Linked DNA regions of Homo sapiens: regions 1 and 3 are each linked to region 2. The links are contacts of gene promoters, found by promoter capture Hi-C in human tissues and cell types (Jung and others, 2019). All regions are on one chromosome and are shown on one strand. Each heading gives the region's core, a stretch centred on a gene start or on the middle of the fragment in contact. The rest is flanking DNA. Distances are from core to core; before and after follow the strand shown. Region 1 has its middle 590 kb from the start of PRELID2. Region 2 holds the start of PRELID2 (PRELI domain containing 2). Region 3 has its middle 35 kb from the start of TCERG1.

The links. Contacts are between HindIII fragments. The study calls those that stand out against the background at their distance.
Region 1: a fragment that was not itself captured here is called in contact with the fragment with the promoter of PRELID2 in region 2 in 1 of the 25 tissues and cell types used here (dorsolateral prefrontal cortex).
Region 3: a fragment that was not itself captured here is called in contact with the fragment with the promoter of PRELID2 in region 2 in 1 of the 25 tissues and cell types used here (mesenchymal stem cells).

Annotation. Positions count from the first base shown.
Region 1 is chr5:145,238,919-145,242,995 of GRCh38, forward strand. It overlaps a transcript of PRELID2 not described here. Among named protein-coding and RNA genes, the nearest start is that of PRELID2, 590 kb to the right of the region's middle. The HindIII fragment of the contact is 4,775 bases long and covers 1-4,023 here.
Region 2 is chr5:145,834,092-145,838,362 of GRCh38, forward strand. PRELID2 (PRELI domain containing 2) reads right to left here and starts at 1,251. Exons shown (of 7, transcript NM_205846.3): 1 at 1,086-1,251. The coding sequence starts at 1,160. RefSeq lists a silencer at 1,443-1,562. The HindIII fragment of the contact is 8,273 bases long and covers 1-4,271 here.
Region 3 is chr5:146,410,635-146,414,591 of GRCh38, forward strand. No RefSeq gene overlaps it. Among named protein-coding and RNA genes, the nearest start is that of TCERG1, 35 kb to the right of the region's middle. The HindIII fragment of the contact is 4,106 bases long and covers 33-3,957 here.

The DNA.
Region 1 (4,077 bases), core at 386-2,885, 590 kb before region 2:
CCTAATACTAGTTTATATTAAATAATGTGTGGGTATCTATCTGTCTCTATCTATCTATCTATCTATCTGTCTATCTATCTATCTAACACACACACATTAATGTGAATTTTTCAGTGACATACAGTTAAACATCTGAAGCATTTTTTCTGGGACTATGTGCACTGTCTCAGTAAGAGTATGAGCTCTACGAGGGCAAGTACTAATTTTAAAATTGTGCTATAATCTTCTAATCCGAACTGTAATTTCTTCAGCTATCTCATTAAATGTTTATGACTGACCAATGATTCCTCCTCTTGTCTAGCTATTCTCTAGCAATTCCTTTGAAAGAAATACTAATGAGCAATTAAATGTTAAAAAGGGGCAAAAGAATGAGGAGTGGATTTTCCCAGAAGGTAATTATGAGTGCCTACCATGTTCCAGGAATCACTTGGAGTGATGAGAGGACATAGTCTCTGGTCTCAAGGATATTGTCTCCTGGGATAAACAGACAATTACAGCACAGTATTCTGGGTCAGCAGAGGCCCAGAGGTATCCTACACTTAGACAAAAGGCAAAAATGACTGACTGCTGAGGTCTCTAATTACTGAGATTCCTCCTGAAGTGATGGTAAATGCTATAATGCAATTATAATAAATATAATGCAATTACAATAAATGTCTGTTGAATTGAATTAAATCAAATTGATGCCTCGCTCTCCAGAAGCTCAAATATACACCATGAAAAATGGAAATGCCATTATTTAAAAAGAAATTCAAGGCCTCCTAGTAAGTTATCCATGGAGATATTTCAGAAGATTTTTAACCCATAAGAGTCCTTAAGAAATTCTATAAGCTTCTGCCCTACTCAAGTGGCCCTCTCATCTGATGAATGGACCCTTATAGAAGCTTCTTTAGAATATTCTCAGACATTTGAGGTAAGGTCCTGGCAAAATGAGAATGGTTTTTCTGCCACTGAATAACTTAAGGATGATAATGACAACTAAATGTGATTGATAGCAGCCACAATTTGTGCTAAATTATTTCATATAAAAATATGGCCCCCAGCAAAGCATATCGTTGAATGCTGTTTTCTCAGAATTTGGTACATCTTTTGCCTCTTTTCTCCCTCCTAAATAAGTTCTTTGACAACAAGGTTGCGTCTTTCTTGTTGATAATAGGATGAATGAGCATATGATAATTGAATGCATGAAAATGAATTTAATAGATGGTTCCTCATAATGGTCTGACGTTTTATGGCATTTATAAATGGGTACATCTCACTGGCACTCTCTACATTGAGCAAATGTATTTTCTTTTTAATTTTCACTTTCTGCTTTATTGCTTTCTTTTTTTCATCAGACAGGGAAAGCATGCTTTTATAGAAGTATTAGAAAATAAAAATAAGCAAAGTTTTTAAAACCAAAGATTTCACCACCTAGCATTAACCAATATTAACATTTTGTTTCTGTCTTTTCCAAGGTTTTCCTATACAAATATACACTTTTTAAACAAAAATATTTTTTTCTGATATATACAATATTTTGTAATTTACATATTTATAAATAGTAAATAAACATACTTTATAAGTATCCATGTGCATCCTCATCTTTAGTAGTTACAAAATAATCCATTGTGTATATCTCAACATTTATTGAAACTATACTTATTATCAGGCAGCTGGGTTGTTTCCACATTTTTGCTATTTTAAACAACATTATAATAAATGTCTTTCTACGTACAACTTCTTGTATTTATTTGAGGGTTTCTTTAAAAACCGGTAGAATTGCTGGGCCAAAGGGCAAATCCCATTTTAAAGGCTCCTGTTGCTTATGACTGAATTTCATACTATAACTGCTTTATACCACCACTGTGTCAATCCTAGGTGTTATGATCTTATAAGCTTAGATGACATATAAAAAAATTAACATGTTTGTTTCCTACATTTAGTGAATATTATAGTGATTCCATAAACCTTGTTTATGTGTATAAAAGCAGAATGTGTAATGATTTCGAAGCTGGTTTCTCAAGCCAGATTATTTGATCTCCTATGCTGGCTCAGCTGTTCACTAGCTCTATGACTCAAACAGGTTAAAGAGCTTCCTTGGGTGGGCTTCAGCGTCCTCATCTGGAATATGATATAATTAAAGTATCAATCTCTTAGGGTTGTTCTCAGAATTAAGTGATTTGACCCATAAAGTGGACACAGAACAGTACCTGGCACAGGTAAGCATTCAATAAATGCTACTTGTTCTCTTGTTTCTAGGAACACAACTAAATTAATTTTTCAGCCTTTCTTGCAATTAGATACATCTATGAGACTAGACTGTAAGATAAATTGATGTGTGTCATTTACTGGTCTGGCTCATAAATACCTTGAAGACACGATTCTCATTCATTTCCTTGTCAACCAGCAGAATAGAGATCACCCAAAGGACCTAGAGCAGGTGGAATCACAAGATAAAAGGAGCCTGGATGTATAAATGACTATGGAAGAGAGCTCCACCACCACCAACCACATGCAACCATCATTCACCAATGAGAAATAAATGTATATCGCATTGCATTTTACATGTTTCGTTGCTCTTGTCATAGCACTCAGCCTTTCTTGACTAATAGAATTGCCTATTGTTATTCCTTTATCACATATTATCTGTTTTTTAAAAAGAGAGAATTTTATTTCAAAATATGAAGAATGGAGAGGCGTAAAAAGTTCAGGACTTGAAATCCACTGTAGAAAATCTACACCTTGATAATATATGAGTCCATGGGTCATTTATCTATCTAGAATGTATATTATCCCACATCTTTGTTTCTTTATATTCCACATTCTGGCTCCAGGCTACAGAGGTTAATTTCAATACAGCTAAATGTATTTATTCAGCTTACAGACACAGATTCCTCATATTCCCTCTTACACTGACCAGTGAACATCGTTTTCTTACATTTACTAAATCACTTAGGCCATAAATACCAAAGTACCAGCTGAGAAAATCCAGGAGGAAACATTCTTTGGGAAAAAGAGAACTATTCAAAAGAAATGCTATTGCATAAAAAAAAAAGTTCCCCATAATGGTTCTGCAGTTCTGAAATGTCTACAGGAAAGTCATACCAAACAGGAATATATTTCCCAAGTTTTCCCCTTGAAGATCCTAGACATGAAAGAAAAATGCTCAATTTGAAGCATTGTTCATTTTGCAAAAAATATTATTTGTTACCAAAGGAAGGGAAAAGTAGAAGGATACCAAAAATGATTTTATATGTGTGTGTGAATATATATATACATATATGAAATTTTATGAGCTTTCAAGCAAAAAATTTATTCAAATATAAACCATGAAACACTTTCCACATGGTTTACTTTCTAAGGTTAGAACTTCCAACTGAAACTAGCTGGAATATTTTTCAGAGTGTTTTGAGTCTCCAGGGACCATAAGACATTAAATAACACTATCAAATGAATCTTTCTAAATATAGAGTTAAATGGCTCTCCCCTTACATTTGCATCATGCTCCACAATGAGTTTTCTGTGTAGGAAGGTATTATCATTCCCATCCCACAGGAGGGGATACTGTAATTCAGAGATATTAAAGGGTCTGTCCAAGGTTATCCGGATAGTGCTACAAGGCAATCCAAGTAATCCTCCACTAAGTAATCTGCAGACTTCAGTTTTCACATATGAATTTTCTAAAAATGTTCAAAGTGACAGCTACAATCAAGTTAATCAATGTAACAGTTACAGATGTGTCTATGAGAGAAAAAGGTAACCAATAGGATGCATTTGACCTAATCCCAGCTTGCATCATAGAAAAGAACAACTAAATAACCTGTGGGCAGTAGGTTAAACCCTAATCCGATAATTCCAGTGCAAATGCCAGAAATGTAAAATGTTTATCATTCCCCACCCTAAAAGCATACTTGTTTCAGGAAACAGTAAATAAAACAAATGTCTAGGCTAATAAAGTGATTTATAGCTTTTAGTGGTATGATTTAACCACCATATGTGTTCTTGAGAGACAGCTATATAACAAATATTTATATACATATTTAAATACCATTTCCCATTTATTTTCATTATTCTATTTGAAGTATAATTCTTTAG
Region 2 (4,271 bases), core at 1-2,500:
TCAGTATTGAGGAAGAGTTCATTATCTGTATTGAAATCGGTTGTAGTAATACAAACAACAATAACATTTTAGAGCCCTAACTAAACATCAGTAGCAGTGAGAAAAAGAAAAATAGCTCAGAGCAGATTGTGTGAGTTACAGTGAAATATGCAAAATCAATCAAGCCCAGAGAGACAAGAGTATAGGACTTTAGTGGTCCCCTCCTCACCCAACCCATTCCTGGGAGCAACTGGTTAAAGGCATTTTGTTCCTGACCAGCTGCCTTACCCATTATCTTCAAGTTCCTGGAATTTGTGATACAAAGAACAATGTACAGACAATCAATAGTTTATGTTATTTTAATATAAATTCTTGGTAAACAACTTAGGAAGTGCTTCTTATTCTCCTTTAAAAACCCACTTTCGACTTCTGCTCATCAGAATGTATACTCAGGGCACCTTCACTCCCAGGATGCAGCCCTCAAACTTGGCTCGAATGAACTCTCTTTTTATATTGATTTTGCCTCAGTTTCTTCATTTAGGTCACAACTGTGCTAAGCACTTTACACAAGTTACCTCATTTGGATCCTCACAACAACTCTATGAGTCGGTACTATTATTTTCCCCATTTTACAGATTAGCAAACTAAGGCACAAAGAGAGTAAGCAACCTGCACGATGTCCCACAGCTGTTTAATAAGGAGCAGCGGATGGGGCAGCAGAACCATCATGCTGAGTAAACCAGGATGACTGCCCAATGGCCTCCCCTCGCTTTTAAGGGGTCAGTGATGAACCGGAAAGCTCCACACGTCGGTCATCTGCAACTCCACGGAGCTCACGAGCTGGGATTCCCGGAGGCTCTTCCTAAAAGGAAAGCCTCTTCTTTCAGCTGGGGCAGGTGTGAACGTGATGCCAAGCACGGCCCCTTTTCCCGCTCCCTGTAAAGGGAGTCTTCGAGGAAATCCCTCTCGACCCACACATCCCTGAAGCAAAGCCCGCAGCTGGAAAGAGACACTGGCGGTGCCAGCTTCCGCGTGGATGAAGGAGAGGAGAGAGGGGCAAGCAGCGGAGGCAGCGCGGGATACGGAAGGTGGAAGCGGGGCGGTACCTTTCGGAGAAAGCTGGCGACCACCTGCTCGAAGGGGTACTTGTACACCTGGTGCACATCCACCGAGACCCCCATCCCCGCGCGCCGCGGGCCCCGCGCACCGGCCACGCCTCCGCGAGCTCAGAGCTGCCCAGGGCTCCGCAGAGGCCCGGAGGCGCCCACACTCGGACAGCCACATGGGCGTGGCCTTTTTCCTCCGCTTTTCAAACTTTCGAAACTTTATTGGCCACTCGGAGAAACGCGCAGTCGGCCACGCCCACGCCCCTACTGCCAGAGTCCGGGGCCTGGGGTTACAGAGCGCGGGAGGCGCTGGAGCGCTCCCAGAGCACCCGGGGCCCCGCGGTCTCCACGCTGGCGGCGCCAGAGCGGCCCTGGTGCCCTCCCGCGGCCGCGCCTGCCGAGAAAAGCTTCTCTGCCTGGGAGCCATCACGCCCCGCCCCAGGAAACCTGGACCTTGGGCTTATGCGTTTATGGTATCACCGCCTGGAGTCACAGAATAAGCCGTGGTTGGCAGCACGGGAAAAAAGTATTAATAAGGAAGGCCTGGTGTGACAAAGGCCAGCATTACTCATGCCACCAGGCAGCTGCCTCTGAGGCTTGGGTTTGGGCCTCGTGTAAGGTAAAGATTGCCTCGGGAATAAGAACCGCGTTTTAGTGCACCAAAACCTGCAGGTAAGTTCCTTTGCTCGCTAAGGTTAAACACCACGGAGCAAGGAACTAGAGGATACAAAAGAGTTGCGAGTATTATTATTTACTGCAACCAACAGATGTTAGGAGAACCAGCACGTTAATCCGTGTATTCAGCACGGTTCTGAGGCCTCCTATGCCCCAGCGCTGTAGTGGGCACTGCGGATTCCGCAGGGAGGAAACACCAGCTCTGCTGATGAGCCGGCTGATTTCACACCCAATCAACAAGCTGGGAAAATAAAAACAATAATCGGTTAAAGTGACACGGGCGCGGACATGATTTTAGTGAGGGTGATTATGGAGGGTCTCTGAGGTGATGACTTTTACGATTTTGCCATCTCGCTCGCCCCTGCCATACGCAGTCACACTGGTCTGGCAAAACCCTAGCCTTGTGTAAATCTAGGTCTCCTCTGACTGTCTCTACCCAAGCCACCAGAAGGGGCTGAAGGAAAATACACACCCACTGTGCATCTTTTAAGTTCATAACCACTAACCCTATGGCGCCTTTTAATGGTGCCAGACAAATACACTATGAAAGTACTGTATTTCTGGCTGGGTGCGGTGACTCACGCCTGTAATCCCAGCACTTTGGGAGGCCAAGGTGGGCGGATCGCCTGAGGTCCGGAGTTCCAGACCAGCCTGGCCAACATGGTGAAACCCTGTCCCTACTAAAAATACAAAAATTAGCCAGGCGTGATGGCGGGCGCCTGTAGTCCCAGCTACTCCGGAGGCTGAGGCAGGAGAATCGCTTGAACCCGGGAGACGGAGGTTGCAGTGAGCAGAGCTCGCCCATTGCACTCCAGCCTAGGCGACAAGAGCAAGACTCCATCTCAAAAAAAAAAAAAAAAGAGAGTACTGAATTTCTCTAATCCACTTACTCTCCCGCATTCCTCCACACCTCTGACACCTTTGTTCCCAGCCTTATACTCCAGTCATTACCTTACTTCCATTTTCACTTAGTCAATAGGTCACATCGCTCTGCCACCTCTCTACCCACCAGACCAAATGCCTTGCCTTCACTCTTGTTCCTGTGGGTGAACTGTCAGCACTTTGTTTTAGCACCAGTGTCTCCATTTGTCCACTGAATCCTGAGGTGAACTGAAAAATGTTTAACAAATAGCTGTCCTTTAAAGTATAAATCAAGCAAGGCCCTGATTTCCAAAGGTTGCTGATTCCTGTGGTGTAAATACTCCTACCATGTTTAAAGATGCCAACTCGATGTCACTAAACACAAGTTGGGGATTTAGCAACATGGAGTTGAGTGAGGAGTGGGAGTTGGGGAGGGAAGCACAGAAGCACACCATCACATAGTATTTCCACCACCCACATACGACAGCCATAAAGAACCAAAAACATAAATAATGGAAAATGTAGCAGGAAGGGATGAGTTTTCAATGTTTATTACTCTTTGGCCAGGCTCCTATGGTTCATGCCTGTAACCTCAGCACTTTGGGAGGCCAAGGCAGAAGGATCACTTGAGGCCAAGAGTTTGAGGCCAGTGTAGGCAACATAGTGAAACCCCATCTCTACAAAAAATAAAATAAAAAATTAGCCAGGTGTGGCAGTGCACACCTGTAGTCCTAGCTACTTGAGAGGCTAAGGCCAGAGGCTCTATTAAATCCGGAAGTTCAAGGCTGTAGTGAACTATGATCGTGCCATGCACTCCAGCCTGGGCCACAGAGTGAGACCCATCTCAAATAAATAAATATTTATTAATTTTTATATGTGATTGTAAATTTATATACTTTAATAATAGCTGTGTTGAATGGCCAGCTCTAGTACATCACTAAAAGTTCCTGTCCTCTTTCTTGTTCAAGGCCATCTCTCTAGCAATATCCCCCTTCCTTTCTGTATCATCAGCTTTTGTCTCTACTGGGCCATTCCAGCCAGCACAACAAGTACACTGTAATTTCTTCCATCTAAAAACAAAAACAGAAACAATACAAAAAAAACAACTCTTAACCCCCTATCTTCCTCCAGCTGTATTCCGAGTCTCTGGTCCACTGATGCTCCTCAAAAGAGCTGCCTGTAATCTCTTGAGCCCATTCCAATCAGTATTTGCCCCCACCACTTCACCGAAACGACTGTTGTCAAGGTCACCAATGACCAAATTGCTAAATCCAATAATTAATTCTTAATCCCCACCTTACTAAGCCTGTAAGCAGCATTTCCTTGAAATACAGAGGGAGGAGTGGAGAGGAGAATGAGATGCAAATGCTCTTACATGTGTTGGATGCATGTTTAAAAGCCACTCCACTATATCACCAATCCCTCCTTACAGGAAAACAAAAAGCAGTCTTCCAGGGAGACTACACAGGTCCACAAAGGAGAGATCAATTACCTGCAGAGTTTATGGTATTTTGTATCTGCCTCTTTTACCAGAGTAGCTGGAGACCAGATGTGACATACAAACCCCCTGCTAGCGTAGGTCCTGGGCCCTGTATCCTCAATCCACTCTGACCATCAGTTTCTCCCAGAGTGTATCTTTAAGCAGGACTT
Region 3 (3,957 bases), core at 836-3,335, 580 kb after region 2:
GAGCTAACATTTGTATGTTAAAAATATATGTAGTATGGAAAAGCATATAGGCATGATTTTAAATAGACAGCACAAGACTCAAAAGAAATTGATCAAAATCTTTTGGGCTGAGTCCTCAGACTCCTGGGGGTTAAGAATTCACTCTTGGTTTGATGGGTTACTTTGGTGGAAAATACAGGAGAAGTAACACTGGCTTAATATGCTGTCGTCTTATATCCCCTGGGGGCATTTGCATTTCCACTGGTTTCTTTTGGAGACTGAAAAGGCTTTAAAGCCAAGAGGAATCAATGCATAATGGTGGAGTTTCAGGCTGCATGAATTGGGGTAGAGGGACAGATATTATCCAGCAGAGGCATTGCATTTATAAAGAACATTTCCTAGTGATCTGTCAGCCTTTAACAGGCAGTCCCATTTCCGAGTAGGTATAGTAAATGTCCACTTGATTCTGCTTTGACAATGTTTGTGCAAGTAACTTTGCCCTTCTATGCCTCAGTTTCCTTAGCTCAGTATGAGAAATTAACTCATACAGGTGCCGTGAGCTACTGTATAAAAAGTACTTTGCTCAGTGCCCAACATATAATAAACATTAACTAAACAGCAGTTCTTACAAGCACTAATTATAAAATTAACATATGCTCAGTCAGACCTACCCCTAAATTTGTGGGCCTAGAGTTTGTTAACTTTTTTGTTAACAAACAAGCCAACAGACTGTTAAAAAAAAATGTGGTGTATCCTTCTACTTTTGAAACAAAGTTGAGAACTATTTTTCATATGACTGAATATCAGCAAATTTTAAAGTTGACTGATCTTTAATTTTCTGTACATAACTGGCAGTTCTGTTGTTTGGCTGATGTTTGGATGCGTAATAACAAAGGCATACATAATTCATACATGACTATATATTTGCTATATAAAAATTATTTTTTCTTGTCTTCATTTTAGCAAAATTACAGTTACGTTCTTCCAATCAGGATTTTTACATAATTTATGTTCAAAGATAGTAATGCCAAATTCAACACCCTTTCTTAGCCATTGTATTCTTATTTTTAAATTAATTTCATCATGGAGAAAACTTGCTGTTAAGTCAATAGCAACTGAAATTGTCAAAGTTATTGTAACATTTACATTCAGAAATTGGCAATGGATTTTACATATAAAGTTCAAATACTATCATGGGGTCTTAAATTGTTGTTACGATAGAAAATACTACAAAAAATTTTAATTTCATAATATAAATCTATCACTTACATTGCAATTTTTACCTTCTCTAAAAACAATATCCAGATCCAGAAAATATTTTGGTAAGTTTTTTTTTATTTTTAATAAACCTAAAGTGATCTCAACAGATATTAGTTTGGGGATTATTTGTATGTGCATATTCTCTTTTATAGTGATGCAAACATTTTTGTTTACTTGTTCTGATTTTCTCATATTTTATAGAAATGTCACATTTGTTACATATTTTACATGCAGTTTATTTCAATTTAGAGTAACTATTTTCTCTCTATAAAAAAATTTAATCGTAAAAAGGCAAAACAGCCAAACTCATTATTTGGTTCCAGTTTTTAGAATTTCTGCAAGCTTTTGCTAACATCATTAAAAACAACAGTTTCTACCAAATAACCATAGATAGTGCAGATTCAGAAATAATTTTCTGCCAAAGATCATGATTCCTTCCTTAGCAAAGTAATGCAGGAACAGAAAACCAAATACCACATGTTCTCACTTATAAGTCGGAACTAAATGATGAGAACTCATGAACACAAAGAAGGAAACAACAGGCACTGGGGTCTACTTGGGGGTGGGGGGAGTGGGGAGGGGAAGGGGCAGAAAAGATAACTGTTGGGTGCCGAGCTTAATATCTGGGTGATGTAGTAATATGTACAACCAACCCCTGTGACACGTTTATCTATGTAACAAACCTTCACATGTATGCTCAAACCTAAAATTAAAATTCTAAAAAAAGATCATGATCCTTTTTTTTTTTTTTTTTTTTTTTTTTTTTGAGATGGAGTCTTGCCGTGTCACCCAGGCTGGAGTGCAGTGGCACGATCTCGGCTCACTGCAACCTCTGCCTCCCAGGTTCAAGCGAGTCGCCTGCTTCAGGCTTCCGAGTAGCTGGAACTACAGGCGCCCACCACCACACCCGGCTAATTTTTGTATTTTTAGTAGCGACGGGGTGTCACCATACTGGCCAGGCTGGTCTCAAACTCCTGACCTCGTGATCCGCCCGCCTCGGCCTCCCAAAGTGCTGGGATTACAGGTGTGAGCCACCGTACCCGGCCATGATTCTTTTTATTTAAGGATTATCTTTTATTTCTCATACTCTTCCAGTGCATCTTGTTATCTGGTGTAAATAAAATTTTGTTGTTTTAATAGCTTTTAGTCAGCATTCCCTTTGTGTGTCCAAAAGTGTTTTAGTGACAAACATATAACAGCTTTTTCAAGTTGTTTCATCTTTGGACAGATACAGAAAATATCCTATGTAGTTGTTTAATTGTTCTGAAGATGCAATCACCCATTTGACACAGCTGAGAACATGTCCCTTAATAAGAAATTCAAACTATGTATCACACATGCCTCATAATAAATGCTTGTTCCTTACCAACTGCCATTATCATTAGCTTGCCATCATTATTCTTTTAAATCAATGTCTAAAATTCAAAATTGTATTTTCAATTCTACTTTTTACAATAGGTATAAAATCAATAACATACACAATTTTGACTTCAATTTTTATCATCTGATGAACTATCAGATGCAAGTGTGGCCTGCCCACCATCATCAGATGATGGTACATCAGAAGATAAATATTAGTTGCTCAATATGATTTTGTCCTAACATAATTTACGTAAATTAGTTACTATTAATTTAAAAATTGTATCTCTAATATCTTTTATCACATTTAATAGTATTTTGAATTCTCCATTTAAAGAAATATGATCTTTTAAAATTCAATTTTGTTTTTTTTTGAGACAGGGTCTCGAGAGCTCTGTTGCCCAGGTTGTAGTGCAGTGGCTCAGTCTCGGCTCACTGCAACCTCTGCTTCCCAGGTTCAAGCAATCCTCCTGCCTCAGCCTCCCTAGTAGCTGGGACTACAGGTGCATGCCACCATGCCCAGCTAATTTTTTTGTATTTTTAGTGGAGACGGGGTTTTGCCATGTTGGCCAGGCTGGTCTCGAGCTCCTGACCTCAGGTCTTCCGCTCGCCATGGCCTCCCAAAGTGCTGGGATTACAGGCCTGAGCCACTGCGCTGGGCCTAAAATTCATTTTTATCTATGTTATATGCTTGGCTATTTTGGCATCACATTTGAAAGTTATTTTTTCTACTAGACTAGAACATTTCCATTGTTTTCTATGAATATCGCACTGTTGCTGTTCCACACAAGCTTGCCTAAGTATGGCACATCTAATACTGTTTTCTTAAGAATATCACAGCGATATTGTATATTTGTATTTGCTTGTTTATTTGTTGAATACTGTTAATCATTTGTGTTGTTTCAGGCTTTTTTTTTTCCATTCTAGTATTTGCGTGTGCATTTTTTGGGGTCGGGGTCAAATAACATTTTGTATTCTTTTAATTGAGAACCTAAGTATTTCCAGTCACAGATTCTTTCACTGGACAAAGCTGACTGTGAAGACAGACTGAAATATGTAATAATAGTAACAAAATATTTTGTCTTTTGACTTAGAATATTAAAAAAGTTTCTACAGTTTCTCCATTGGGAAAAAAACTTACAATAATACAAAATATTAACTTTTCTGCCAAGTTTATTCAAGGAAAAATTTATAACCAATAATTTAAATCAACTTACATTTTTCTGGAAATGTTCTCAGATTTCAGAAAGCTGTGACAAACTTTTCTAGGATCACCTTCCAATAAACAGTAAAGAAGCAAAAAGTTTTTAATCTTTCTTGTCAAATTTGCCAATTTCCCCATAATTTCTTTATCATCTA